Regions from separate parts of the Homo sapiens genome. Here regions 1, 2 and 3 are each linked to region 4. Evidence: promoter capture Hi-C in 16 types of primary human blood cells and fetal thymus (Javierre and others, 2016). All regions are on one chromosome and are shown on one strand. Each heading gives the region's core, a stretch centred on a gene start or on the middle of the fragment in contact. The rest is flanking DNA. Distances are from core to core; before and after follow the strand shown. Region 1 overlaps LOC101928236 (a long non-coding RNA gene). Region 2 overlaps LOC101928236 (a long non-coding RNA gene). Region 3 overlaps LOC105374174 (a long non-coding RNA gene). Region 4 holds the start of TIPARP (TCDD inducible poly(ADP-ribose) polymerase).

The links. Contacts are between HindIII fragments. The CHiCAGO score rates a contact against its expected background, and 5 or more counts as called.
Region 1: a fragment that was not itself captured here is called in contact with the fragment with the promoter of TIPARP in region 4 in 2 of 17 cell types (naive CD8 T cells and activated CD4 T cells); the score reaches 7.0 in naive CD8 T cells.
Region 2: a fragment that was not itself captured here is called in contact with the fragment with the promoter of TIPARP in region 4 in 1 of 17 cell types (neutrophils); the score reaches 5.2 in neutrophils.
Region 3: a fragment that was not itself captured here is called in contact with the fragment with the promoter of TIPARP in region 4 in 2 of 17 cell types (total CD8 T cells and fetal thymus); the score reaches 6.7 in total CD8 T cells.

What each region holds. Positions count from the first base shown.
Region 1 is chr3:157,229,708-157,237,133 of GRCh38, forward strand. The region is part of intron 2 of LOC101928236 (a long non-coding RNA gene); the gene reads left to right. It also overlaps the pseudogene PCBP2P4. Among named protein-coding and RNA genes, the nearest start is that of CCNL1, 73 kb to the left of the region's middle. The HindIII fragment of the contact is 596 bases long and covers 4,973-5,568 here.
Region 2 is chr3:157,211,183-157,218,365 of GRCh38, forward strand. All of the region lies in intron 2 of LOC101928236 (a long non-coding RNA gene), which reads left to right. Among named protein-coding and RNA genes, the nearest start is that of CCNL1, 55 kb to the left of the region's middle. The HindIII fragment of the contact is 1,462 bases long and covers 533-1,994 here.
Region 3 is chr3:155,857,126-155,864,599 of GRCh38, forward strand. It overlaps LOC105374174 (a long non-coding RNA gene), which reads left to right. Exons shown (of 3, transcript XR_924607.4): 2 at 1,127-1,207; 3 at 5,523-6,614. Among named protein-coding and RNA genes, the nearest start is that of SLC33A1, 6.4 kb to the left of the region's middle. RefSeq lists enhancers at 853-952, 5,547-5,606. The HindIII fragment of the contact is 260 bases long and covers 1,150-1,409 here.
Region 4 is chr3:156,672,848-156,679,796 of GRCh38, forward strand. TIPARP (TCDD inducible poly(ADP-ribose) polymerase) reads left to right here and starts at 1,743. Exons shown (of 6, transcript NM_015508.5): 1 at 1,743-1,949; 2 at 4,810-5,767. The coding sequence starts at 4,851. It overlaps TIPARP-AS1 (TIPARP antisense RNA 1), which reads right to left and starts at 2,866. Exons shown (of 1, transcript NR_027954.1): 1 at 324-2,866. RefSeq lists an enhancer at 1,239-1,538 and silencers at 1,949-1,998, 2,029-2,098, 2,469-2,828. The HindIII fragment of the contact is 8,735 bases long and covers 1-3,396 here.

The sequences.
Region 1 (7,426 bases), core at 4,021-6,520, 560 kb after region 4:
GATTCAGTTTTCTGCTTTGTGCTTATCTGCACAATTTGAATTTGTAGGAGAAATAAGACCACCGGAAGCCTCTACGAAGTTTTTAGAAACATTAGAAAAACTCTTCCCCTAACCACAGTGGAGACACAGACCTGCTGGCACTAGGAAAGTGGATTTTATTTCTCACTGGTCACCATTTTGAAAACACAACTGTACAACATTATGTGTTGGTGTTGAGAACAAGTATTTTTTTTAAGATCAGAAAAAATATCATTTATATATGCCTTTCCCCTCAATTTATTTTCCAACCCATCTTTTATGTTTTTTTCAAAAATGTCTTGACATTACATAACCAAACCAAAATTTATTAATAGTCCCTTATTACTTTTTCTTGACAAACAGAAAAAAAGTATACTCATGAGCAAGAAAGAAAACAAACAACAAACAAAATGAAGTAGGAAACTCAATGTTAACAGCTTAACACAGAAAGCCACTACAACAATGAACAAAAATTGCAAGTTAATGATAAAGTAATGTAGAAACAAAATTACAGACTACTAAAAACATGGGATTGCCAGTTGTTCAGAAATTCCACAGATGGATCGTGAGTGGTAAGTAGCAGAAGGGTTCTGGGTACCCTCTACAGGAAAAGCTAACGTTGCCAGCAGATCTGATTTTAAGTTGTGTCTCAGATATTTGACAGATCCCATTGAATTTTGATGACTTCTGGTCACGCACCCAACTAGATATTTTAGAAAAAGTGAGTTCAAGGGAACTTGAATGCAAAGGTGCTCAACTAGGCCCAAGAGATTTTCATGTCTGGAGAGCTGAATTAAGTGTCATGGAATCTGGTATCATTACATAATATAGAGAAATAAGACTTTTGCATTTCCATCTGGTGCAGCTTAGTAAACCCCAGAGGCGGCCTCTCCAGGTCAGAGTTGAGACACATGGTTGGTGTCTCCTGGATGATGTGGGAAAAGCATGCCTTGTTGCTTGAGCTGCGTCCATCCTGACACCGGCAAAGTTGACCAGAGAGCCGGAAAACTGGGGTTGATCCTGGATAATCATGCCTGCCACAGGGACCAAAGAGAGTTTCCAACACGGCCATGAAGTCTGGTCCACATAATCAATGATAGGTGATGTAATAGTGATGGCCTGCCTGAGTTTCTTCCAGCCTGCCCTGCCACCTGGTCCTGAGCTTTGTGCTCTCTCCTATTTCCTTGATCTTGTACCTGCCTTTCCCAAAGAAACAGCCACACTGGTTATAAAGGATAAATATTTTGTAAAAAGCGAGTTCATAGGAACACCAATGTGCCAGTACCCATTTGGGCCACAGGCTGCCTGGGGATCAATTGTCCCACTGGTTGCAGAGTGGCTGATGTCCTCTCCCAGATTTTTAATGATCACAGCAAATGCTTTACAGATGGCATTAATAGATCTGGCCAGAACAATGATTCTCTCAGAAGAGTTGCCTTCTGAGATGCTGATATGTGCATTATCCTCCCCAAGCAGCTCCTTAACTGCTGTTACTTCCCACACTCTGCATGGTTCTGCCAAATTCCTTTCTACGTAATATGCTTTCGGTCATCCTGGAGTCTGTGGCAAGCAGTATCTGGAGATTTGGATACTTGTTAAGTGGTTGTTTGGTCACTGGTAGGAGTGACCAAACACTTTTCCTCTCAGTCATCCTGGGACCACAAAGCAAGCCTGCTTTGATAAATAGCGTGTAAGTGAAGATGTTTTATATTCAGGTGAAAGGGTTTAAGAATGGAATATGATTTTCCATGCTCTTTTCTCTGGGCATGGTGATTGTGGAATGATATTTTGATACAGATGTCCACACGATTGAATCATGCAGGGATACCAAGACTCCACATGAAGGACAGCTTCATTGAACCTCACCTGCCTCAGCTTTGTATGAGTGACAAATAAACTGTGTGTAGCATCACTAAGATTTTGGGATTGTTTGTTACCACAGCATAAATTGGCCTATCTTGACTATTCATTTGTAAATATTGTATACTTATAGTGCTTATACAGTTTCAGGCACATTGGCAATACATATTCGTTAGTTAAATGGATTGAATTAAGAATAAATTTAACATTCACTGAACAAATGACTATAAATTATGGAAGTATATTAGCTAGAATAGCTCAGTTCAGTTTTATTTATTGACCGATACTGTGGTAGATATTGAGAATACAAAGATAAATTTGTTTTTAACCTGGAAGATTTTGGTTGGAAGATAAAATTGGAAAGGTTGATTACTGTCTGGATGTGGAGGATCTTAAATTAAAGACTGGGCCATTTTAATTCATCTTGTAGACAATGGGAGGGAAAAGTAGGTGTCTATGGGTTTTGAGCAAGGGAGAAGTACTATTAAATTGACATTTTAGGAAAATTAATCTGCTGATGGTGAAGGAGGTATAAGCATACAAGTTGAGAGGCTATTTCAATAATCTAGGTGTGAAAAGATAAGGGTCCAGGCTGGAGTGTTGGTGATTGAAATGAAAAGGCATAATCGGAAATGAGAGAAATTAGAAAGTAAAAACAGGGTATTGGATATGTGAGGGGTAGGGAGGTGAGAAGGAAGAATGATTAACGAATGACTCTTAGATTCCATGTCTGTGATGCCACTGGTGGAGGTTGGGAGGATATAGAAGATGATGAGTTCTTTTTGTTGTGTGTTGAATTTGAGGAATGACAGCTCATTCATACAGAAATATCCTTAAGGTTAGTTTGTGAAGTAGGATTGGATGGAGCTTGGCAGAGAAGTTGATGCCAAAACTAGATTATAGTGTAGTGATCATACTGGAAACAGTAAGAGTAGATGAAGTTTCTAAACGGGAGCTTGTAGAGAGAAAAGCGTGGGCTTTAAGAGAGATCCTCATTTAGGGACATGAGAATGGAGAGGAGTTAGCAAAGGACACAGGGAAGTAATCAGTAGGAGAGGTAATTTTTACTGAACATTTACTATACTAAGAATTTTACATGCATTTTATTATCTAATTCTCACAGCCTCCCCTAGGAGGAAGAGTTATTCCATTTTATGGATGAACAAACTGAGACTGATAGGAGTTTAAGAATTTTCACTGAGGTCAAATAGCTACTAAACAATGATGCCAGGTCTGCTTGACAACAAAATGTTGTCATTTTGTTCTTAACCGTTGCGGTTAAACTCAAATGATCCAAGTTTTAGATGAACCAGCTTGTTATTGAGGAGGGGCTGGCCAACAGGGTCATACGCTATAAATTCAAAAGAAATGATGTTTGAGAACAGGCCATTGATTTGATGAACAGGAAGTGATGGTTTTGAGTAGAAGTGGGGGTAGTGAGCAGGAGCATCACTACAGGGGACAAGGTAAAGGCATGAGTGGGTGATGCTGAAGGAAGGAATCGGTGGAGACAACCAATCAAGAAATGACAGGGGAAAGGAACAAGAGGAAGGGATACATCCTAGGGGGGATCTCAGGGTTACTTTCACAGATGTATTTATTTCCAAGACAGAGGCACAATTTACATATAAGATAAATGGATCCAATGGAGCCAGAGAATGGAAATACCACAAAGATGGCACCAGTGGAGTTGGTAATTTTTTGAGGAGGATAGAAAGACGGGGATCTAAAGTCCAGGGGAAGGGATCAGCTCTGGAGGGAGAAGAGCAACTGCTTGCTTCAAGACCAGAGGGGAAGACCAGCTATATTTTAAACTAGAGATACTCTGGCATCTCTTGAATTTACTGGATTTGTGGAAGTTCCTTTCACCACATTGATACCAGTGAAAGCCAATTTTAACTTAGATTAGCTCAGAATTAAAATTTCCAGTTACTAAAATATGTATGTGAAAATGTGAGATTGTTTTTTAAACTTATAGATAAAAATTGGTTTTATAAGAAAAAATTATTATAATTCTTTCAAGTTACATCACTGAGTCCTTAGTACTTTGTTTTAGAAAACAACTACCTGTTCACCTGCTGAGCTCATTTCCAGTGTCTGGTTTGAGTTCTGACCCTAAAAATGCTATTTAATAAAATGCTCTTATTTTGGATACATCTTATGCATATTTTAAAAAACACTCTTTATGAAAAACATCTTTGCATCTTAAGTTTATTTGCTTTGAAAGCTTTAAGTCTTTTTTTTTTTTTTTTTTTTTTTTTTTTTTTTTTTTTTTTTTTGAGATGGAGTCTCGCTCTGTTGCCCAGACTGGAGTGCAGTAGTGTGATCCTGGCTCATGGCACCATCCACCTCCCGGGTTCATGCAATTCTCCTGCCTCAGCCTCCTGAGTAGCTGGCACTACAGATGCATGCCACCATGCCCAGCTAATTTTTGTGGTTTTTTTAGTAGAGATGGAGTTTCACCATGTGGGCTAGGTTGGCCTTGAGCTCCCGATCTCAGGTGATCCGCCTGCCTCGGCCTTCCAGAGTGCTGGGATTACAGGCGTGAGTCACCATACCTGGCCTGGCAGCTTTCAGTCATAATATATACATCTCAATTATTTTTATACTAACTTATTGGTTTCTTATATAAATTCCAAGGCATGTCTAATAGTCTGTCATTGCAATCTGAATCAGCTTTTTTTTTCCTGAGCAAACACAATTAGAAGGGCTTTAGGATTAATTACATGATTAAACATTTAGTGACTCCCAAAAACTTAGTGAAATAAAATGCATAGAAATTGTTGACTCAGTATTCTAAATAAATCTAATCTTTAGGAATGTCCATGGCTTTGGCAGGATTCGAGGAACATGAATATTATGGGGAAATTTTTTTATGAGACTTAAAAAGGAACAAGAACACAACAATATAAAACATAAGAAAGGAATCTAGTATTTTTGTCAGAAGCAAGTTTTCTCATGAAAATGGAAAAAATATATAATTTAATTTGCATGTTTTTTTTTGGTCAACTCTGGTTTATTTTGTTGGTTTTGTTTATTTGTGTGCTTGAAAGGTTTGCTGCTGGGCCCTTGGACTAAGACCTGGGAAACTCTAAGCTTCATTTTTCTTCACGTGCCAAGTGGTATAGGGAAAGTTGCTTCATCTTTTATATTTATGAATCCCTAGGATAAAAAAAGAATATACCACTTACTTTTTTGAAAGTATTTGTGAGTTTTTATATGAAAAACTGAACAATACTTCAAATTATAGAGCAGCAGGGGAAAATCGAGTGGGGCTGAGGAGACAGATTATGCTGCCTACCTTCCATGGGACTCTGTTGGGCTCACTTTGTAGTTCTGCCATTCAGGGCTGGCTTCCCCAGCTCACTCCGCTTGTGGCTTTGGACACTGCTTTTTCTCCACACTCTCTCTTCGTTCTCCAGCTTCTTTGCTGACTCCTCTTCCTTGACCCAGCCCTGAAATGCAAAGATTCTCTGAAGGTCTATCTCCACACCCTTCTCTTCTAGCATTATCTATATGCTAGTGCAGTCTTTTTCACGCCCAATGTTCCTGCCACGTTTCCACATACCAGTCAGACATCTGTGCCTATGTGCCCCACAGGTACTTTAAACCCAGTGCCCCCAAAGTTTAACATGTCTTCCAGTCCTCTATCAAAATGCTTCCCTTTCTGGACTCTTTGTGTTGATTAAAAGCTTCACCTTCTCATAGTCAACAAAACTAGAAATATGTTCATTTTCCTTGCCTCTCACATCTGATCAACTATGTGTTGTTAATACTATCTCAAATGATTTAATCTCCTTCATTTCCCACATCTTATAAGTAGCCACATTCTGTTTATATTATCTCTAAAATGTTCGCAGTGTCTCTCTCTTGTCCATTCTATCTTCTGCCCTTGTTCTGACCTCATCACCTATTGCATCAGCCAGCTACCTGGCCTTCTTGCCTCCTTCTCTGTTCATTCCATCCTGCACACAGCTGCCAGAGTTGTTTTCTAAAATACAAATTTAATAATAATAATCTTTTGCTGAAAAACCATTGGCTTCTGCAGCAGAGTCTGGCTGCAGCCTCATTTTCTGGCTACACTGTTTCTGCACCCCTTTCCGCCCCCCGTGTAATACATGTGTGCTCTATCCTGTACATCCAGCACACCATAAACTTTCATGGCCCCATGTTTGTTTGGCCTTCTGTAATGCCCTACCTGTCTTTTCTACTTGGTGAAATTACACCAATCTCTCAAGGTCCAGCTCTATTGAAAAGATATAATAGACTATCTTTAGAATATAGTAGGACTCTAATAAATATTTTTTGGTAAGTTAGTTATAAAGAAAATACAAAAGCCTTATGGTACCAGTAAAGGATGAGGGATTATTTTGTTAGCTGAGAAATATAACTGTGTCAAGTCTATACTGTCCAAGATCCCTACCTGCCATTTGCATGGTCTGCCTCAGGCAATGCTTCCTTAGTTCCCTTATTAAAGATAATTTTAGTTTAAAAATATATATATATATATTTTTAATGAAAAATGATACTGTAATGAACATATTTTATGGAATACTTTTGCAAGTATATCTGTAGTGTGCATTCTTTTTTGTTTGTTTTTGAGACAGAGTCTCATTCTGTCATCCAGGCTGGAATGCAGTGGAGTGATCTTGGCTCACTGCAATCTCTGCCTCCTGGCTTCAAGCGATTCTCCTGCCTCAGCCTCCAGAGTGGCTGGGATTATAGGCATGCATCACCACACCCAGCTAATTTTTTGTATTTTTAGTAGATACAGGGTTTTGCCATGTTGACCAGACTGGTCTCAATCTCCCGGCCTCAAGATATCTGCCTGCCTTGGCCTCCCAGAGTGTTGGGATTACAGGCGTGAGCCACTGCACCTGGTATATACACATTCCTTTTAAATTTAGGAAGCTAGCCCTTTGTCTACAATATGCGTTGTAAACAATATTGCCAGTTTACCAATTGTCTTTGATTTTGTTCATTATTATTTTTTGTTGCATAGAAATTTAAAAATCTTTACAGCTAAATTTATTAATATTCTTCATGCTTCTATGTTTTGTGTCATTCTTTAAAAAGTCTTCTTCATTCTAAGATTATGAATAAATACACCCAGTTTTCTTTAGGCATTATTATAGTTTCTTTTTCAGGGTTTAAACCTTTGATCTTTATGAAATTTACTTTGATATAAGGAGTGAGATGAGATTTGTCTTTTTTCCCCAAGTTGTTACTAGTTATACCAAATCAACTTATTGAATATGCTTTTCTTCACTAGTCTGAAACTTAGCTTTTATATAAAATTCTATTGCATAGTTATATGTATTTCTGAACTCTGTACAATTCAATTAGTGAAAACTTTTGATGTCCCAAACCAGTAGTTTAGGAGATTTCAGCATTAAATCAGAGTTACTCTGGATCCAGATCTGTTAGCAGATATAAACTTCACGGTCACAAAATTCAGGTGAGCAAAGATGTAACTTTATTTCCCTACAACCCAACTTAGTTTAGCTCTTGAGCCCCTATGTCCATTTTGTGGTAGAACTCTTAATAC
Region 2 (7,183 bases), core at 14-2,513, 540 kb after region 4:
ATGTATATATGTGTATATATGTATATATGTGTATATATGTATATATGTGTATATATGTATATATGTGTATATATGTGTGTGTATATATATATATATTTTTTTTTTCTTGAGACAGGATCTCACTCTGTTGCCCAGGATGGAGTGCAGTGGTGCAATCATAGCTCGCTGCAGTCTCGAACTCCTGGGTTCCAGAGATCCTCCCAAAGTACTGGGATGATAAACTTGAGCCATGGCATCTGGCCCTTATGATTTTTTTTTTTGATAGTCTATTTTCAAGGTAAAACACTTAGTGAATATTTAGAAGTTTAGATTGTTAAAAAAATTAGTGTGTGTTTACTTAAAACGAGAGAACTTTAAGTCTATCATAAATGTCTATTTTGGTTGATTATGGGTCTAGTGAGGCATAACACACAAAAATGTTGAACATTCCATTTAACCATGTGGGAAAACTGGGAATTCTGAAGGATTAAATTTTGGTAGAAGACAATGGGAAAATTCCATATAACTAAGAGGAGATGAGAAGAAGTATATAAGCTTATAATTTTCTGGAAAAAAAGTAAAAAGGACTTTTTTTTTTTTTTAAATTCTGGGTAGAAAGGTAGGGGAAACAGTTTCAGAATTTCTAAAATATATTGCTTTTATGCCTTGAATTTTATGGTCCACTTTAAGGCTTGAAAATAGTATTTACAAAAACTGATTTGATTATTTATACCAAGGGCATCTTTCATAATCAAAGGCTACCTGGAGATAAACTCTATGATATTTGACAATAGTATAAAACACTTCAATACTCATGATCTCAGGCACAACCTGTAGATGTATTTAAAGGGATTTCTTGATGCTATATTGATTTTTTTTGGACAAATAAAAGCTATTTTGACACATCAAGTACATTAATTTATTTTGACCAAAAGGATAGAAAGTAAAGCCATGCCTAAGAATGTGTTAGAAGTACAAAATATTATAAAAATTTGAGCTAATTATTTAGATAATTCAAATATTAAAGTTTGAATTATTCATTAGAGGTAAAGTGAATTTCTGTTGAATCCTTTATTGAATTGACTTTGTTCTCTTAATGGAGAATTAGCCTCAAAACTAGGAAGTGATAAGTAGCCGGGGGCGGTGGCTCACGCCTGTAATCCCAGCACTTTGGGAGGCCAAGGTGGGTGGATCACAAGGTCAGGAGTTCGAGACCAGCCTAGCCAATATGGTGAAACCCCGTCTCTACTAAAAATACAAAAATTAGCCGAGTGCCGTAGTGTGTGCCTGTAGTCTCAGCTACTCGGGAGGCTGAGGCAGAAGAATCGCTTGAACCTGGGAGTGGAGGTTGCAGTGAGCCGAGATCGTGCCACTGCACTCCAGCCTGGGCGACAGAGCAAGACTCCGTCTCAAAAAAAAAAAAACCTAGGAAGTGATAAGATTGGAAATAATGTGCTTGGTTTTTTTTTTTTTTTTTTTTTTTTTTGGGTTGGGTGTATCATTTTATTTATTTTTGTTTTTATTCTTATTTTTATTTTTATTCTTATTTTTTTTTGAGACAGAGTTTCTTTCTTGTTGCCCAGCTAGAGTGCAATGGCACAATCTCTGCTCACCGCAACCTCCACCTCCCAGGTTCAAGCGATTCTCCTGCCTCAGCCTCCCGAGTAGCTGGGATACAGACATATGCCACCACACCCAGCTAATTTTGTATTTTTAGTAGAGACGGGGTTTCTCCATGTTGGTCAGGCTGGTCTTGAACTCCCGACCTCAGGTGATCTGCCTGCCTCGGCCTCCCAACATGCTGGGATTACAGGCGTGAGCCACCATGCTCAGCAGTGTGCGTCATTTTAGTAGCAAATTATTTATTTGATGCTTAGGTACCTAGCCATTAGAAAATGTGTTCATTCCCGCTTTGTTTAGTTTAATATTTTGGACTTTTGCCTTATTTTCTTTCATTACTTCTTTTGTTTTCATCAGTTTTCTTGTTTAAAATGGAAACAGAATGCTCTAGAATAAGCTTAGTTCTCAAGTTTGTCCACTTATTTTCTGACTGTCAGTGATCTCATTAATCATAATATAATCCTTGGTAAGCGAGGACTAGAGATATGCATTGTGAAAGAAAACAAAAAGAGGAGGGCACAGAAGGAAGATGGGGTGGATTCAGTCTCCACTGCCACTGTGGTTATATCAGACTCAGAAAGTAAACATGCCTGTGCTCAGATCACGCACATCTAGTGGCATACATTTGTCAACACCCAACACCACAAAATCATTAAAAATCAAATCAAAAAGGATAAATTATCATTCTGAACAATATGACACAGGTACAGTTTAGTCCTCTTCCTTCTTCTGATATCTAGTTGTGTCTTTCCATCACTGTAGGCAGACCGAAGTGACATCACATTTGAGGTGCAATCAATATAATTAATCACCTTGGAGGTGAGACATATTGGTTCTCAAGAACTGGGTCTGACGTCAAAGGAGAGCAATCTTGCAAGTGCAGAAGAAAGGAGTATCAAACAGTGCACCTATCTTGGGGACCTCGACCTTCCAATAAATCACATCATAGCACACCTACCATGACAATATTTCACATTTTCAAAACAATTTTGGTGTAAGTATCTTGTGCATTTTTTTAAATTTTTTTTGAGACAGAGTCTTCTCCATCACACAGACTGGAGTGCAATGGCATGATCTTGCCTCACTGCAACTTCCAACTCCCGGGTTCTGGTGATTCTTCTGCTCAGCCTCCCAAGTAGCTGGGATTACAGGTGCCCACCACCATGCCCGGCTGATTTTTGTATTTTTAGTAGAGACGGGGTTTCACCATGTTGGTCAGGCTGGTTTCGAACTCCTGACCTCGTGATCCACCCACCTTGGCCTCCCAAAGTGCTGGGATTACAGGCATGAGCAATCGTGTCCGACCATCTTGGGTATTTTTAAAGAAATAGCACTGCTATTATAACTTTGTTTTCATGTAAGTGGAAATAGTGGATTTCCATGGGATGAAAGCAACGGGGCAATGCCTCTAGCATTGTTTAGTGCTAGATGAGGCTGGTAGTTGGTAAGAAGTATAAAAATCAAGGAGAGACCGGGCGCAGTGGCTCACGCCTGTAATCCCAGCACTTTGGGAGGCCGAGGCGGGCAGATCACGAGGTCAGGAGATCGAGACTATCCTGGCTAACACGGGGAAACCCCGTCTCTACTAAAAAATACAAAAAATCAGCCGGGCGTGGTGGCGTGCGCCTGTAGTCCTAGCTACTCGGGAGGCTGAGGCAGGAGGATGGTGTGAACCCGGGAGGCGGAGCTTGCAGTGAGCCCAGATGGCGCCACTGCACTCCAGCCTAGGCAACAGCAAGACTCCGTCTCAAAAAAAAAAAAAAAAAAAAAAAAAAAAAAAGGAGAGAAGGAGAGATGACTTTAGCCAAAATAAGTCTGGAAATGTGATTTTAGCCAGTCTTCACTTTATTTCATCTGTGGTTCGTCTGTGGGTCACATTTCCCTTCCTAACAACCCCAAATTCTTATATCTCTTTAAACCTGATCTTATGAATGTTGTAGAACCAAATTTGTGAATTTCAGACAGGCTACTGCCTTTTCCAGAGATATTTACAGTTTAAGCCTTTTTTTAAAAAAAAAAAAAAACAAAAGAAAGATAAGCTTTATCAGTAAATGGAATTTCAAAGTCAAAAGAGGCTGAGCAAGAGCCTTTTTATTTGGAAGCAGAGGGTTCTTTCTAGTACAGTCTTCTTTGCTTCATCTGTAAGTTTGAAAGTCTTTTGTCTTTATTTATATTTTTAAATAAGTTAGGTACAAAAGTTCAGAGAAAGTCCCACTTGATTTGGTGGAAATTCATCAATTAACTTTCAGGTGGTCATGCTATTAAAACAGTCTTCTGGGTATATCCTGACATAAGCCAAGACGTTTTCACTGGACCACTTTTTTTTTTTTTTTTTTTTTTTTTTTTAATTTTTGAGATGGAGTCTCACTCTGTTGCCCAGGCTGGAGTGCAGTGGTGCGATCTTGGCTCATTGCAGCCTCCGCCTCCCTAGTTCCGGTGATTCTCCTGTCTCAGCCTCCTGAGTAACTGGGACTACAGGTGTGTACCACCATGCACAGCTAATTTTTCTATTTTTAGTAGAGATGGGGTTTCACTGTGTTGGCCAGGCTGGTCTCGAACTCCTGACCTCAAGTGTTCCTCCCACCTAGGCCTCCCAAGGTGCTGGGATTACAGACATAAGCCAAGCCACCCAGCCATTTTTTTTTTTTTTTTTTTTAAGACAGGGTCTCACCATGTTGCTCTGGCTGAACTTGAACTCCTGGGCTCAAAGTGATCTTCCCATCTCAGCCTCCCAAGTAGCTGGGACTACACGCTTGTGCCACTGTGCCTAGCTCAATAGCATGTGTGTTAACTGAGTTAGTAACACAGTTCCTTTCTACCACCTCCACCTTAAGAGTATTGGGAGAGACTTTTAATTAAAGAAAAAAGTAGCAAATTTGAAAAATAGAATGTACTAAACATTCTGGTTTTTAAAGAATGACTATTATGTCTGTGAAACATCACCTATATTTTGTTTGATAAAATAAAAAAAGAAATGCTTGGTTGAAGGCAATAGCAGGTTCATGTTTTTATGATTGCATATCTCACAATAAAAAAGTAAACTCATTAAGTTTGTTACAAGGATTTGGCAGTTTTTATGTGATTTACTCTTATTAACAAGGACAAATATATTGAATTACCATTTTATATCAAATCTATATCCTATAGGATTTAAAATGAACCAGTCTGGTTGACACATGAGTATGATGCAGAAAATCACTAATGAGAATAAAACAGGATTCCAAGTATATCAGATGTCCCTATTTGTGTATGTTATATATTAAAACATGAATTTGTGTTTCATAAGTGTAAGGCTTTGACTTGGTTTTAAGAATCTGATATTTTAATGACCTATCCAGATCCTTTCAAAAGAAGTCATTCCTTGACTATTTCAAAGACTTTACTTCTCTATTTCTGCTAGCCTTGGAAATATTCACTGTTGATTTTTTTCCTTTGGTCACAACCTTCCACCTCCTGCTTTTATCAAGCCCTTCAAAATGGTTCTTTTCATTCTGCCTTGACATTTCTCCATGCGCCCTGTGGCGGCCCACTCCAGCCTGTTGTCTCCCACTGCTCACTTAGGGGCTTTAGCTGGAACTGTGTCTGGGCTAGACCTGGTCCTCAAGAATATGTATTTAGAAAGGTGAACAGCTTTAATCTCATTGTGCTGTCCTTCCCTCTGTTACTTCCCTGCTCTTCCAGTCTGTTGGCTTTTAATTTCTTTTTTCTTTTTTGAGAGAGAGTCTAGCTCTGTTGCCCAGGCTAGAGTGCAGTGGCACAATCATAGCTCACTGCACCCTCAACCTCCTAGGCTCAAGTGATCCTCCCACCTCAAGCTCCTGAGTAGCTGAGACTAGAGGTGCATGCCACCATGTCCAGCTAATTAAGTTTTATTTATTTATTTATTTATTTATTATTATTATTATTATTATTATTTTTTTTTTTTATAGAGACAGGATCTCTATGTTGCCCAAGCTGGTCTCAAATTTCTGTGCTCAAGCGATCCTCCCACCTTGGCTTCCCAAAGTGCTGGGATTACAGGTGTGAGCCACCATGCCTGGCCACCTTTCATTTCTGACTTCTTTATTTTTTAGCTGCATGTTTGGGAAAGAGAGAACATAGGGAAGGCCTACCATACACTTGACCACCTTTGCTCAGAAGTGACCCACATCACCTCATCCATGTTCTGGTGGCCAAGAAGGAGGCAGGAAAATGTAGAGGTGCAGATAAATATTGATAAGCATTGACAGTTTCTTTGATGTCAGTCTTGTAGAATTATTTTGAGAATTAAATATGACAGCATTTTAAAAATATTTAGTTCAGTGTGTGGTAGATAATTAGATCAATAATTATTAAATTGCTTAGTATTCCAGTTCAATAAAAGTTGTTTTTCTCTTAAAAAAGGGTTGATGAATTAGCATTCTACTATATGTTGATATATTTCCGTGAGTTTGGTTAGTGCAAGCCAAAGTCAGAGAGGTTGTTCCATACTCAGAGTATTCATAAAACCGTATTTCTGGGTCTGCAAGAACAGTGACTTAGAAACCATCCTGTGGAGTCACATCTTGGGGACATTTCAGTCAGCTCCCAGGTGAAATTACATGGTCAAAATGATGTTTTTCTTCTGATTTTAGCTGAGCTCTCAATGTTAAGACCTGGGTTTGGAGTATCTATTTATCAATATACATTTTTGGGGTCATTCTGAGTTATCTCTAGTAGGCTGTTTGTTCTATTCTAAAGCTCATTTCCTGAGCTTTCTGTGGGATGCCTGCCATGGAGTCGCCTCCTGCTGTAGCCTGGAGTGGGGTTTGCCTGGTGGTCCTGACACTGATTCCCTTGCCACCTGCACTCCAGGTGGCTTAACACCCAATCTTGAGACTGAATGTGTCACCCTTTCTGATAATCCGATACCATTTTCTTTTTTTCTTTTTCTTTTTTTTTGAGACAGAGTCTCGCTCTGTCACCCAGGCTGGAGTGCAGTGGCGCAATCTCGGCTCACTGCAACCTCCGCCTGCCAGGTTCAAGTGATTCTCCTGCCTCAGCCTCCTGAGTAGCTGGGATTACAGGTGCCTGCCACCACGCCCAGCTGATTTTTGTATTTTTAGTAGAGACAGGGTTTTACCATGTTGGTCAGGCTGGTCTCAAACTCCTGAGCTTGTGATCCGCCCACCTTGGCCTCCCAAAGTGCTGGAATTATAGGCATGAGCCACTGCACCTGGCCACCTTTGCGTTTTATAATCCCTCTGCTCTTTTGCTGCCTAAATCAGAACATGCCTACCCCAGGAAGAGGCAGGGCACATCCGCCTCAGTATCAATTCTACTCACTAGGGACAAATAAAAGCCATTATTTTTATTTTGAAACAAAAATAAATATATTAGGGAATAGAATGTAAAATCCTCTTGAATTTTGAATCAAGAACTACAAGAATTTTTTTTTCTATAAATTGGGTGGAACTCTTGACCCATTTTTAGTTTGGTTTCATTTGCCATTTTGAAAATACTGTGGGTAGAGTTTAAGGAGCAGACTTCTCTCACTTACATCTTGTTAACTTGAACTTGTTCTTATCAAGTCTAAAACGGATTCTATTCTAGCAATGCATCCTCT
Region 3 (7,474 bases), core at 30-2,529, 820 kb before region 4:
TCGCTCTGTCGCCCAGGCTGGAGTGCAACAGTGTGATCTCGGCTCACTGCAACCTCCACCTCCCGGGTTCAAGTGATTCTCCTGCCTCAGCCTCCTGAGTAGCTGGGACTACAGGTGTGTGCTACCGTGTCCCGCCACATCAGTTTTTAAATAAGGAATCTTCTTGGAAATAATTGATTTCTCCCTACATATAAGAATGATTCCCCTTTAGTGGTTCAATTATCTTCCTATCAAATGTTAAATCTTTAGATCTATGCAGGCAAGAGTTACAAACAATAGGAAAAATGACTGGAGGCAAATATCAGGAAAAGTGTTTTTCATGTTACCCCAATTCAATGTGTATGCATTATTAAAGTGATAAGGTGGGCCAGGGGCAATGGCTTATGCCTGTAATCTCAACACTTTGGGAGGCCAAGGCAGGTGGATCACTTGAGGTCAGGAGTTCAAGACCAGTGTGGCCAAGATGGTAAAACCCTGTCTCTACTAAAAATACAAAAATTATCTGGGTGTGGTGGTGAATGCCTGTAATCCCACCTACTTGGGAGGCTGAGGTAGGAGAATCGCTTGAACCTGGGAGGTGGTGGTTGCAGTGAGCCAAGACTGTGCCACTGCACTCCAGTCTGGGCAACACAGTGAGAAGAGAATCCTCCAGCCCCAAGGTGAGCCACCCCTGCTAATGCTAAATAAAGAGTAGAGACAAGTATTCGTTGCTAAGCCATGCCCAAATTGCTGTTGTCTTCTTAGAAGACTTAGTGGTAGTATCTTTCCAACACAAACTAAGACATTTCTCTACAAACCTGGGAACACCACCCCCACCAGGCCCTCAGTGTCCCTCAGCAAATGTGGAACAAATGTCACTATCACTATGAAAACAAAACTGATACCGCATGGGACCTTCAGCCCATACTGTCATGAATAGCTGTTTTTGTTTTTTGTTTTTGTTTTTTTTGCATTTTCAACTCCCCTAACTCACTTCAGTTAATATCATTTCCCCTTTCTTTTGGAATACTGGTGTTCCCTGATTGATGTGTTTTGGGGAAGCTGGTGAAACTGCCAAATATAAAACCCTTCTGGTGGTCGCCATGATCCTTTCTTGCTTTTTTTTTTTTTCCTTGTCCCTTTATAGGTATCCTGTGTTTTCCAGTTGAAAGCTTGTGAAAATTCGCTTTATCCTTGAAGTTCAGAATTTTCACCAGGATGTATGAAGGTATGTATTGTATAATACATATATGTTTTTCTATTAATCTTGTTCAACATTTATTAGGTCTTTTTTAACAAAGTTTCAAATCTTTCTTGATTTTAGAGAAATTTTCCTTAATAATATCTTTGCTTTTTCATTTTTTCCTCTTCATTAATTCCCCCTAAAAGTCCTAGTAAACTTATATTTTGTTTACTGGAATTACCCCTTAAGCTTTTTCTCATAACTTTCCTTTTTCTTTTTACTCTATGTTCTTAGAAACTTCCAAACTAGGTCCTTCAAAAACAAATTGAAATTGCACAGTTAAAATTTCTGCATTTCAAAATACATAAGAGTTTTATCTCAAAAAACAAACAAACAACTATAAAAAAACTATGGCCGGGCGGTGGCTCACGCCTGTAATCCCAGCACTTTGGGAGGCCGAGGCGGGCGGATCACGAGGTCAGGAGATCGAGACCATCCCGGCTAAAACGGTGAAACCCCGTCTCTACTAAAAATACAAAAAATTAGCCGGGCGTAGTGGCGGGCGCCTGTAGTCCCAGCTACTTGGGAGGCTGAGGCAGGAGAATGGCGTGAACCCGGGAGGCGGAGCTTGCAGTGAGCTGAGATCCCGCCACTGCACTCCAGCCTGGGCGACAGAGCGAGACTCCGTCTCAAACAAACAAACAAACAAACTATTTGCATGGGGATTGGTGGTCATGGAGGCTTGAATTTAAAATGGCAGATTATCAAAGACTATTGAAGCTTGGTGATAGGTACACTAAGGGTTCATATGAGACCATTCTGTTTATTTTGTACATATTTAAAATTCTCCATAAAGGAAAATGAGAACAAAAACAACAACAAAAACCTCAAAACAGGCCGGGCATGGTGGCTCACGCCCGTAATTCCAGCATTTTGGGAGGGTGAGGTGGGTGGATCACCTGAGGTCAGGAGTTTGAGACCAGCCTGGCTAACATGGTGAAACCCCATCTCTACTAAAAATACAAAATTAGCTGGGCATGGTGGCGCATGCCTGTAAACTCAGATACTTAGGAGGCTGAGGCAGGAGAATTATTTTTATTTTTATTTTTTTGAGATGGGGTCTTGCTCTGTCACCCAGGCTGGAGTACAGTGGCGTGATCTTGGCTCACTGCACCTCCTCCACCTTCTGGGTTCAAGCGATTCTCCTGCCTCAGCCTCCTGAGTAGCTGGGATTACAGGTGCGTGCCACCACACCCGGCTAATATTTGCATTTGTAGTAGAGATGAGGTTTTATCATGTTGGCCAGGCTGGTCTCGAACTCCTGACCTCAGGTGATCCACCCACCTTGGCCTCCCAAAGTGCTGAGATTACAGGCATGAGCCACCATGTCCGGCCGGCAGGAGAATTATTGAACTCAGGAGACGGAGGTTGCAGTGAGCCGAGATCACGCCGTTGCACTCCAGCCTGGGCAACAAGAGCAATATTCCATCTCAAAAAACAAACAAACAAATTGGTTAACCACCGCTATTAATGCTGCTATTCAGTCTGTTTCAGAAACAAAACAAAACTGAAAGAGAGAATTTTACTGGAAGGATATTGATGGCCTCCCAGAATCAGTGGAAGGCCAGGACACCTGGCTTAGCAAAAACACAAAAATCAAGGTGACAATATATTAGGAATTACAGCAATAATCTTCAAGAACATTTTTCAAAAAACTACTCCACTGCCACGCCTGTGATGTCTTTGCTTCGTTTTTCTAGGCTCTGTTACAAAAATTAATACCACCATCTAGTGGACCCTTCATATACCTATGTCTGATTGTAGATTTCTTCTCTGGTTTTCCAGTCATTTCACTGAGATCTGAACTGTATCTTCTATATATTCCTGAGAATTTTAAAATTGTTTATTTTTGAGGTGGGAATCAGGTTTATTGAGGTATAATTTATATCCAGTAAAATTGGCCCTTTTTAGTGTACAGTTCTATGAGTTTGTTTTTTGTGTGTTTTTTGTTTTGTTTTGTTTTTGAGACAGAGTCTTGCTCTGTCACCCAGGTTGGAGTACAGTGGCGTGATCTTGGCTCACTGCAATCTTCACCTCCTGGGTTCAGGCAATTCTCCTGCCTCAGCCTCTTGAGTAGCTGGGATTACAGGCGCCTGCCACCACATCTGACAAATTTTGTATTTTTGGTAGAGACTGGATTTCACCATGTTAGCCAGACTGGTCTTGAACTCCTGACCTCAGGTGATCCACCCACCTTGGCCTCCCAAAGTGCTGGCATTACAGGTGTGACCCACGGCACCTGGCCTTTTGTTTTCTTTTGAGACAGAGTCTCGCTGTGTTGCCCAGGCTGGAGTACAGTGATGCAATCTTGGCTCACTGCAACTTCTGTCTCCCAGGTTCAAGCGAGTCTCCTGCCCCAATCTTCTGAGTAGCTGAGACTACAGGTGCATGACACCACACCTGGCTAATTTTTGTATTTTTAGTGGATATGGGGTTTCGCCATGTTGGCCAGGCTAGTCTTGAACTCCTGACCTCAAGTGATCTGCCTGCCTTGGCCCCCAAAGTGCTGGGATTACAGACGTGAGCGACCATGCCCGGCCCTATGAGGTTTTTGGGTGTTTTGTTTTGTTTTTTTAATTTCCATAGGTTTAGGCTAGGCACGGTGGTTCACGCCTGTAATCCCAGCACTTTGGGAGGCCGAGGCGTGTAGATCACTTGAGATCAGGAGTTCTAGACCAGCCTGGCCAACATGATGAAACCCCATCTCTACTAAAAATATAAACATTAGCCAAGCATGGTGGCGCACACCTGTAATCCCAGCTACTTGAGAGGCTTAGGCGGGAGGATTGCTTGAACCCGGGAGATGGAGGTTATAGTGAGCCAAGATCGCACCACTACACTCACAGCCTGGGCTACAGAGCAGGACTCAGTCTCAAAAAATATATATTTTTTTATAGGTTTTTGGGGGAATGAGTGGTGTTTGGTTACATGAATAAGATGTTTAGTGATAATTTCTGAGATTTTGGCGTACCCATCACCCGGTTCTATGAGTTTTAACAAATAGATAGTTATAGAACCACCACCACAATCAAGATATGGAATAGGTCCGTCAACTCCAAAAAGTACATACCCTTGTGCCCATCTGAAGTCAACCTCTCCACCCATTCCCCAACCTCTGGTAACCACCGATCTATTTTCTCTCCCTATAGCTTTGCTTTTTCCAAAATATCATGTAAATGGAATCATACAAAATGTAGCTTTTGAGTGTGTCTTCTTTCAGTCAGCATAATGCATTGAGATTCATTGATATCATTGTCCCGCATCCCCACCTCCTTCTTTTTTTCTCCCCAGTAATATTCCATTGTATGGATATGCCAGAGTGTATTTATCTACTGACCAGTTGAAGAACATTTGGATTGTTTCCCATTTTTTGTATGAGTAATGTCACTATAAACATTTGCATACAGGTTTTTGTGTAAACATATCTTTTCATCTCTCTTGGGCAAATACCTAGGAATAGGATTGTTAGGTCTTATTGATACCAGTGGGTTAGGGAGGTCCCCAAATGCTGGTGGGGCCTCAACCCCAACCAGTGTCCAGGCTCTTGACACCTTCCCAAGAAGCAATTCAAGGATTAGTTGGAAGATAATGAAAGTGAAACCGTCAGTGCAAGATTATAACTGAGACAGAGAAAGAGATCTAACCTGACCAACTCCATCTTGCCTCTGACCATCAAGCTGTCCTAGTTCATTCCTGGGCATGGGACAAACTAGCTTTAGGAAGAACTTAGTTTATAGTTTATAGTTTGAGGCACAGATGATAACAGCCTTTTCCCAAAACAAATCCCCTTCTTGCCTGGGGACTAGACTGCCTTTGTAGGACTAACATATTAGTCAAAAGATTATAAATTATGGTTTAGGAGTCATGCAGCTGGAGGCTACAAGATTCTGACACTCCCTAAATCGCTCCTGGGGATAAAAATCACTATTATAGGCTGGTGTGATGGCTTATGCCTGTAATCTCAGCACTTTCGGAGGCCGAGGTGGGCAAATCACCTGAGGTTGGGAGTTTGAGACCAGCCTGACCAACATGGAGAAACCCTGTCTCTACTAAAAATACAAAATTAGCCAAGTGTGGTGGCACATGCCTGTAACCCCAGCTACTTGAGAGGCTGAGGCAGGAGAATCACTTGAACCCAGGAAGCTGAGGTTGTGGTGAGCCGAGATGGCACCACTGCACTCCAGCCTGGGCAACAAGAGCGAAAGTCTGTCTCAAAAAAAAAAAAAAAAAAGAAAGAAAGAAAGAAAAGAAAGAAATCACTATTATAAAACCTAAGACCAGTGCTTGGGATATTTTGTAGACCCTGTCCTCGATGGATCAGCTGGCACCACCCAGATGGATAAACTGGCTCATCTGATCTTGTGGCCCCCATCCAGGAAGTGACTCAGTGTAAGAAGACAGCTTCAACTCCCTATGATTTCATCTCTGACCAATCAGCACTCTCGGCTCACTGGCTTCCTCCAACCCACCAATTTGTTCTTTTTTTTTTTGAGACCAAGTCTCACCTGTCGCCCAGGCTGGAGTGCAGTGGCGTGATCTCTGCTCACAGCAACCTCCGCCTCCTAGGTTCAAGCAATTCTCCTGCCCCAGCCTCCCGAGTAGCTGGGATTACAGGTGTGCGACTCCATGCCCGGCTAACTTTTGCATTTTTAGTAGAGACAGGGTTTCACCATGTTGGTCAGGCTGGTCTCAAACTTCTGACCTCGTGACCCACCCGCCTCGGCCTCCCAAAGTGCTGGGATTACAGGCATGGGCCACTGCGCCCAGCCAATTTGTTCTTAAAAACTCTGATCCCTGAATGCTTAGGGAGACTGATTTGAGCAGTAATAAAACTCTGGTCTCCCACACAGCCGGCTCTGTGTGAATTACTCTCTCTCTATGGCAATTCCCATCTTGATAGATTGGCTCTGTCTAGGCAGCGGGCAAGGTGAACCCATTGGGCGGTTATAAAAGTATGGAGGTTTATTGCAAAGAGAAAATTACATATTCAAGAAAGGGGAGTGTGAACATACTCGAGAGTGACACAGCCCGATTTGAGGTTTTTATCTTTACGGATTTCTTTAACCAAGGAATGGAATATTCATGAAGAATCCTGGAAAAAGGTGGAGATTTCTCAGAAATGTGGTGCCATCCATTTTTTAACCAAATATGGGACTGTCATGGCACTGGTGGGTGTGTGATTTAGTACGTTAATAAGCATATAATTAGGTCCTAGGTGAAACCTAGGTCAAATCCAGCGCCATGTTGTGTCCTGTCAGCCTTAGCGAGTTTGGCCCACACCCCGGTTTTTAGAATCTTATCAGCTTCTACCTTATGTAGCTATTTTAACAGATTTTTTCCTTGTTAGTTACGTGAAACTGCTGCCTGGAATTATTAAATTTTTCTGCAACCACCTTGTATTATTCCTGTCTCATTTTCCCCTCTCAGAGATGACTACCTTTTATTTTTCAGGATTGATGAGGGAGGAGGTCAATCTTATGTATTTACTTTCTGTTGAATGGGGCATTGGCCCTGCCTATTGAGGGTATGGAAATCTCTGGCTGCTTGGTCTGAGGGTCCCAAGGGTGGATCATCAGGAGAGTCTGAATATGAGGCAGGGATTGGCTGCAATCTTTGTATGACCATTATTTAGGCATTGAACTGCGGCAACCTAGAAGACACAGACTACAAGGAGGTTAAACAAGCAAGGACCAAAAATTAGTAGTAACAAGATAGTTATTAAAGATCCTAGGAAAGGTAGGAACTATGTCACACTTGGTAGGTATCCTTTAATGAAGTCCCAGATGGTTCGAGTAGTGGAGCTATTGAAATTATGCAGCCAGGTAGCCTGTTGGTAAATATTTTGAATTTGTAGTTTAACTAATACTAGTTTAACTAGTTTAATATTAGTTTAATTAATTTGTAGTTTAACTAATTGAGTTGTTAATATAAGAACAATAGGTGTGGTTTATTATTGTGCAAACCCCTCTTTGTTCAGATAAAACCTCTTTTTTTTTTTTTTTTTTTTTGAGACGGAATCTCACTCTGTCCCCAAGCCTGGAGTGCAATGGTATGATCTCAGCTCACTGCAACCTCCGCCTCCTGGATTCAAGCAATTCCCCTGCCTCAGCCTCCCAAGTAGCTGGGACTACAGGCGCGTGCCACCACGCCCGGCTAATTTTTTGTATTTTAGTAGAGACGGGGTTTCACCATGTTGGTCGTGGCTGGTCTCGAACTCCTGATCTTGTGGTCTGCCCGCCTCAGCCTTCCAAA
Region 4 (6,949 bases), core at 493-2,992:
CTAAATTAGCCATATGGAGAAGCCATGTAGAGAAAAACCAAGGTATGTAGCTAACAGCCTTCTTTCTGTTCCAGCATCCTTAGCTCGTGGCTTCCATGTCCATATTTTCCACATCATGTTCACTTCATTTTTGTCATGAAACTCCATCTCCATCCTTAAGTCCCAAGACTTATGACCCTAGTTAAGCCATTCCAGCCAGGCCCCAGTATGCCCACGCTAATTGAAGCCCCAGACATCATGGAGCAGAAATGAGCCACCTGTACTATGCCCTGACTGAATTCCTGTGCCAGAGAATTCAGAATCATGAGTAAATAAAAGAGCCATTGTTTTAAGTCATTATATTTTGGGGGTGGTTTGAACACAGCAATAAATAACTGAAATACTACTAAAAGCATAAAGAATGTATAACAACCTAATTGTTACAAGGGAGTGGAATTAATAATCTACAAGAAGGCACAAAAGGACAGAAAAGAAACAGAACAAATGAGAAAAATAGAAAGCCAACAGTAATATGGTAAACTCAAATATTAGCTTCTAGGCAATTCTATGTATGAGTAGACACTGACCAAGATCTTGTCTCAATAAGATTTTAAATGTAAAGATTTTCATCTTTTACCTATTGTCCTCTGAATTCCGCCCATATCATTCTCACCTTAGTTTAATGGCCCTGCCTTGATGCAATTTGAAATAAGCTGCTAAGGAGATAACACCCTTAATCTATTCATTGCTGGTGCGCTTACCCAGTCTGGTTTAGAACCGTTTAACAAAGGCTTAGAATCATAATGTCTATGATTATTACCTCTTAGCTCCTAGTTTTACTGACTTCCATGTCTGGAATTACCAGCACTTCTTTTTCGTACATATGGATTATATGAACTAAATGTATTGTTTCTTCCCTCACTACTGAAAATCTATTCAATATATGGAGTTACAATTCAAAGTATTTTACAACCCAGAAAATATGGCCATTCCGTATGTGGTGTGTATTTCAGAGGTGCTCTGCAAGCTCCATGAGGACAGGCGTGAAGTTCAGGCTACATGCCTGGTACGTAATAGACGCTCTGACAGACATTTGCTGAATGAATAAGTTAGTCACTACGGCGTTTGTGGGCTTTAAAACACAAGTAAATGCGCTTCTATCGCCAAAACCTCACAGCTTCCCTTCTGCAAGGTGGCGTACAAGGCCCACGAAATAGTCGGCCGCCGCAGGTGCGCAGCCTGTCCAGCCTGTCCGGCTCGGGGCAGGCGACCTCGTCTGGTGGCAGTGGGGGAGGCAGCCGTTTGCTTCCTCACAGGGTGTGCCGGAATCAGAGGCTGGAGGCGTCTGGGGAGTAGGCAAATAAACAAAGCCAACCGCACCGAAACGGGTCGTTCCGTTTCACATCCTCCCTCGGGTGTCTGGGTCTTCTCGGAACAAAGTGACCCTCCATCTGTCCGCAGGCAGGTGGAGCCCGTCCCACGCGGCACGCGCCTTCCTTCCTCACAGCCGCGTGTAGACGCGGACCCTCAGGGACACTGCGGACGCGAGAAAGGACACGCCCCCTCGCGGGAGCATAAGTCCACCGCACAGAACTCGCGCGCCTCCCCTCGAACGAACGCGCACGCGCGCGCAGGGGGCGGGTCTTCTTCCCGACACCCACTGAGCGCCCGGCCTCCTCACCCCACCCCACCGAACTCCGGCCGCCCAGGCTCCGCCTCCGCGACGGGCCGTCGGGAGGAGGCGACCGGAAGCCACTTAAAGCAGAGATCGAGGTGACAGGCGAGCTGGCTGGACTCGGAGCGCGGTCGAGGCTTTCTGCGTTCGCGGCGGCGGAATGGCCCGTGCGCGGCTCGCCGCGTCGCGGCTCTGTGGTCCCTAGACGTCGGCTCCCGCCCTCGGCGCTGATCTCCGGCGCGGGCACTGCTTTCCACTCGGCTCCTGTCGTCCGTTCTCTCAGGCTCCCGTTCAGGTAAAGGGCTCCGGGAGGGCACTGAGGGGCTGAAGAACCCTAGCGGGGAGTGCGAGCGCCGGCCTCGCGGCTCCGGCCCCGGCCCCGGCCCCGCGCCGGCAGTGTGCGGGGCTCTCGCGGATCGGGGTGATTGATTTTGAGACTGCCCTTTGTACCGAATTCACTCGGGTCCCGTCAGCATGAAGATGGAATTGGTTTACACTTCTTAGGCACTTAGAGCCTGTGGCAGGTGTATACATCAGACCGAGGCGCCGAAGGATTTAGTTGGGGTCGCAGGCGCCTGCCCCTTCCCCGTTCGTCAGGGTGGGGGCGCGTCTATGCGGCCTCCCCCGCGGGCCGACCCCGGGTGCTCTGAGGCGCCTAGGAGCCCTTCCCAGACCCCGGGGGGGAGGGCACGGCAGCTACGGGAGCCTTCCGGCTACCCCGCGTTTCGGGCTGCAGCCCAGAAGTTTGGAAGATGTTTTCACATTAACTTTGAGAGCGCACAAGTCTTCGTCTTCCTCCCCGCCGCCGCGGGAAGCGCTCGCCGCCTTTCCCCCGCGCTTCGCGGCTCAGTTCTGCGAGCCCCCAAGACCCGTTGGACGCTCCTCGGGAGGTGAGCTGAGGGGGTAAAGAAGAATTAGAGAGAGAAGGCGCCGCGAGTAGTCTCTGGGATGCAGGGAGGCCGGGGCGGGTCGTTGGTCCGAAGGAGGCTGGACAGGAGTTGGGGGGCGCCCAGGCGCCTGCTGAGGGGAAGGCGGGGGCGGGGACGCCCGGGAACACCCGGAATTGCAGAGCCGGGCGGCGCCTCAGCTGCACTGCGCGGAGTTGGCGCGGCCCGGGACCAGGAGCTGAGCAAACCGCCGCGGCCAACAGGAGGCGTCACTCGGACCCGGGCTCGGCGCCGGGGTGTCGCGCGGCGGCGGGCGGGCAGGCTTTGGAGCGGCAGTTTTTTCGGAAAGTGCTTTTGGCCGGGAGTGCCGCAGAACCCCAGCGTCACGAGGTGAGGGGTGTCGCGGTGTGTCGCCTGCCGCTGGAGACCGGAGGATGTGTTCTTCTCATCTTTATTTTTCTGTTATGAAAACTAATTGAGGAGCTAGGTTCTAGTGGCTTTCCCCCTCCAGCCACTTCTCCAGTTCTCTGCTTCTTCCTCCCAGTTTTGTTTCCGAGTTTGATGAAAGGGCAATAATAGGAAAAGTTGCGCGCGCGCGCTTGCGTGTGTACGCGCAGACACACATATAAATAAAATCGATTTAGTGTCTATTTTACCTTGATTGGGTTTGATAGGAGTGGTTAGAGAGTGTGCGCGTGGGGAAAGCACAGGCCGGTTTGGTATGGTGGAGAGGGAATACCACAATCTGTGCCAATTGTGCCTTGAGGCAATAACACCAAATGATGAATAATAACGCCTGGCTTGGCTCCTTTCCAGTTGATTTATGTCTCATGTCAGATCCCTCCTTCTTCGTGAAGCTTTCCCTAACAATGCCAGCTTACAGTGAACTCTCCTTTTTCTGCCTTTTCCTTTTGTACTTATCATGTAAATTTAATACTTCGTTATAAACTGCTTTGTATTTTACTTTTCTGAATTTGATGGACTTCTTACACATAGATTTATGACTCTCCAATTAAATTTTTAATATTCACTTTTGGGGACACTCAGTTTTACCTTTTGTTGTTGACCCACAAACAACAAAGAACTAAGCATTTAATATGTGCTTTTCTTAACTAATTCAGCCAACAAAATATATATGGAACACCAGCTGTGTGCATTGTGGTAGCTAGGCACTTTATTGGGCACCTAGGATGCATATTTGATTAAGTCATGGGACCTTGCGTCACAGATCTCTTTCAGTTTATTGGACAAGAGAGAAGAGGATTAATTGCTCATCACCATTCCTTTCTCACCTGGCACAATCTCAGTAAATGTTTTCAAATTTCAGTTTTTTTCAAGGGGTCTGATTCTTGGAAGAAAGGACTTTTTCGTCTCTTTCAGTAGTTGATTAGGAATCTGAAATTTGGTGTGTGTTTTATATTTTTTTTTTATTTTTCTATAGTATGCCTTCATTTGCTCTTTAAAAATGTATGTATGTAACTTTTCTGAAGGCAAGAACTAGGAGGCTTTTTCTGTGTTACCAAGTTGTGCTTGTCTTCTGACACATCGTGCAGTGGTTGTTGCTAATGGGGCTTCTGTTACTAAACACACCCTTGTATTCCATCAGAAGCGGTAATGTTTTTGGGGGTTGTAAAAGTAGACTCTTAACATTCTTGGATAGTATATTAGAGCTTTCTGAATATAGAAATGCTTAACAGACTCCTGGCTTTCTCCCATAGAACATTTCAATTGAGAGCCCCTGTTACTTGTGTATGTTCTTATACCCTTAAATTGACTCACTGTTTTAAGTTTGAAGTTTATCTTTCATTTGATGAACTTTTAAAGAAACTTTTTGTCAACTCATGAGATAGGTGATACATAAACAACTATAAAGAGAACCGCAAAGCTGAGTGGAAATGTGGTTTCCCTGCTGTCATCATCTAGATACAGTTATTTCTACCTCCCATTTCCCACCCCACTCTAACCTTATAGTAGAAATTCTTAACCTAGCAGAATTGCAAACTCTTATGTATTCAGTCCACAAATGCATGCCAATGGCCTGTTGAAAGACTCTTCTACTTTTACCTGCTGTGTGCTTTTGAATAGCCTTGGGTGCTTTGGAGCCTTAATTTCTCGATAAAATTTAAAATTGACTTGTAAAAACTAAATATAGTATAAGAGGAATGGTTTCAGGGAATCAGTCAGGACAAAAACAAAACATTTTAATGAATGAATGAAATCCAGTTGCTGTCAGTTTGTAAATGATCATCTTCCTTCCTTTCCTCGTAGGATTTTTAGACTCTGAGGAGCAGTTGGAGCTAATCCACATTATGGAAATGGAAACCACCGAACCTGAGCCAGACTGTGTAGTGCAGCCTCCCTCTCCTCCTGATGACTTTTCATGCCAAATGAGACTCTCTGAGAAGATCACTCCATTGAAGACTTGTTTTAAGAAAAAGGATCAGAAAAGATTGGGAACTGGAACCCTGAGGTCTTTGAGGCCAATATTAAACACTCTTCTAGAATCTGGCTCACTTGATGGGGTTTTTAGATCTAGGAACCAGAGTACAGATGAGAACAGCTTACATGAACCTATGATGAAGAAAGCCATGGAAATCAATTCATCATGCCCACCAGCAGAAAATAATATGTCTGTTCTGATTCCTGATAGGACAAATGTTGGGGACCAGATACCGGAAGCCCATCCTTCCACTGAAGCTCCAGAACGAGTGGTTCCAATCCAAGATCACAGCTTTCCATCAGAAACCCTCAGTGGGACGGTGGCAGATTCCACACCAGCTCACTTCCAGACTGATCTTTTGCACCCAGTTTCAAGTGATGTTCCTACTAGTCCTGACTGCTTAGACAAAGTCATAGATTATGTTCCAGGCATTTTCCAAGAAAACAGTTTTACAATCCAATACATTCTGGACACCAGTGATAAGCTGAGTACTGAGCTCTTTCAGGACAAAAGTGAAGAGGCTTCCCTTGACCTCGTGTTTGAGCTGGTGAACCAGTTGCAGTACCACACTCACCAAGAGAACGGAATTGAAATTTGCATGGACTTTCTGCAAGGCACTTGTATTTATGGCAGGGATTGTTTGAAGCACCACACTGTCTTGCCATATCATTGGCAGATCAAAAGGACAACTACTCAAAAGTGGCAGAGTGTATTCAATGATTCTCAGGAGCACTTGGAAAGATTTTACTGTAACCCAGAAAATGATAGAATGAGAATGAAGTATGGGTATGTATTTATAACAACTTGTAGAACTGTTGTTAAATGCTATAGAGAAGGTAAAGAAGCTAAAAGCTTAGTAGGGTGGTTTCTTTCAGTAGTAACAGGTTTTCTTTTTTTCCACTATTATTCTTTTGACTGTGCTGTCCTGATTTTTCATGGTGGGTGAATGCAGGCTATTAACTCAACCGGACAATGAAAGTTTTACGATTTGAACAATTCATATGTCAGTTCAACGTGCGTGTGACTGAGAAGTTGCACATACATTAAATATTGTGAATCAAATACTGTTTTAATCACCCAAGGAAAGCTGGCTTTTGAAAGAAAGTCTGGCGAATCTTACTATAACATAAATAATGAATCTCCTAATTTATCTAATTTTAAAGCTCTGCACATTGAGCAGCTGTTATTTTTTAAAGAAAAATAGTATTGTCGAGAGATGTTTGTGACCCTCTTCATTTTGAATGGTATAAACATCTTTTCTGTGAATGATTCAGAAGTTCCTCCCATACTTCTGGATCTTTTATTAGTTTCCTTGGAACTTTTCACCATTAAGTTTATATTATAGATAAAATAAATTTTTCCAGAATTTAGGGTATTTTTTTTTTAACCTGGAAGAGTCCTTTAACAATCAGTGAAGGGATGAATTTATGGTAAGGTATGTTTAATACTCAAACAATTATCCTTGAGTTTTGGTACACAAGATGTGTGTATACACATAACTCAGTTCTTTTAGTATGGATGTCTAAGCAGCATTCACTGGCAGGCAACTGGTATTTCCACATCTGAATTCTTCTTTAAACTTTAAAATGAAGAAAATGATAGTTGCCTCATGTAAAGTTGCTAGTGCAAAAATGGCTATATAATAAGCATTAATGTTTACATCTGTAAGTTATTTCTCCTGTAGCATAGAAGGAGCTAAAGTGTGTGGTGTTAATAGCTATTTGTGTATGACCAAGAGTAAGGATTAAAATTAAAAGGGAGAGAAGAACACTTCTGTCCATGCTCCCTGATTGGGGAGGCCATGAAGGCAACCTAACAGCTTCATACTAATGAATGGCCTGGTATAGTACTGAGATGACCCATATTGGAGGGGAAAATACACTGAATATACCATCCCAGAAGTCCAAGAGAAAACAATTCCTTGAGTCATCTTTGTTCACAGATATGTTGATTTACACTACCTATGTG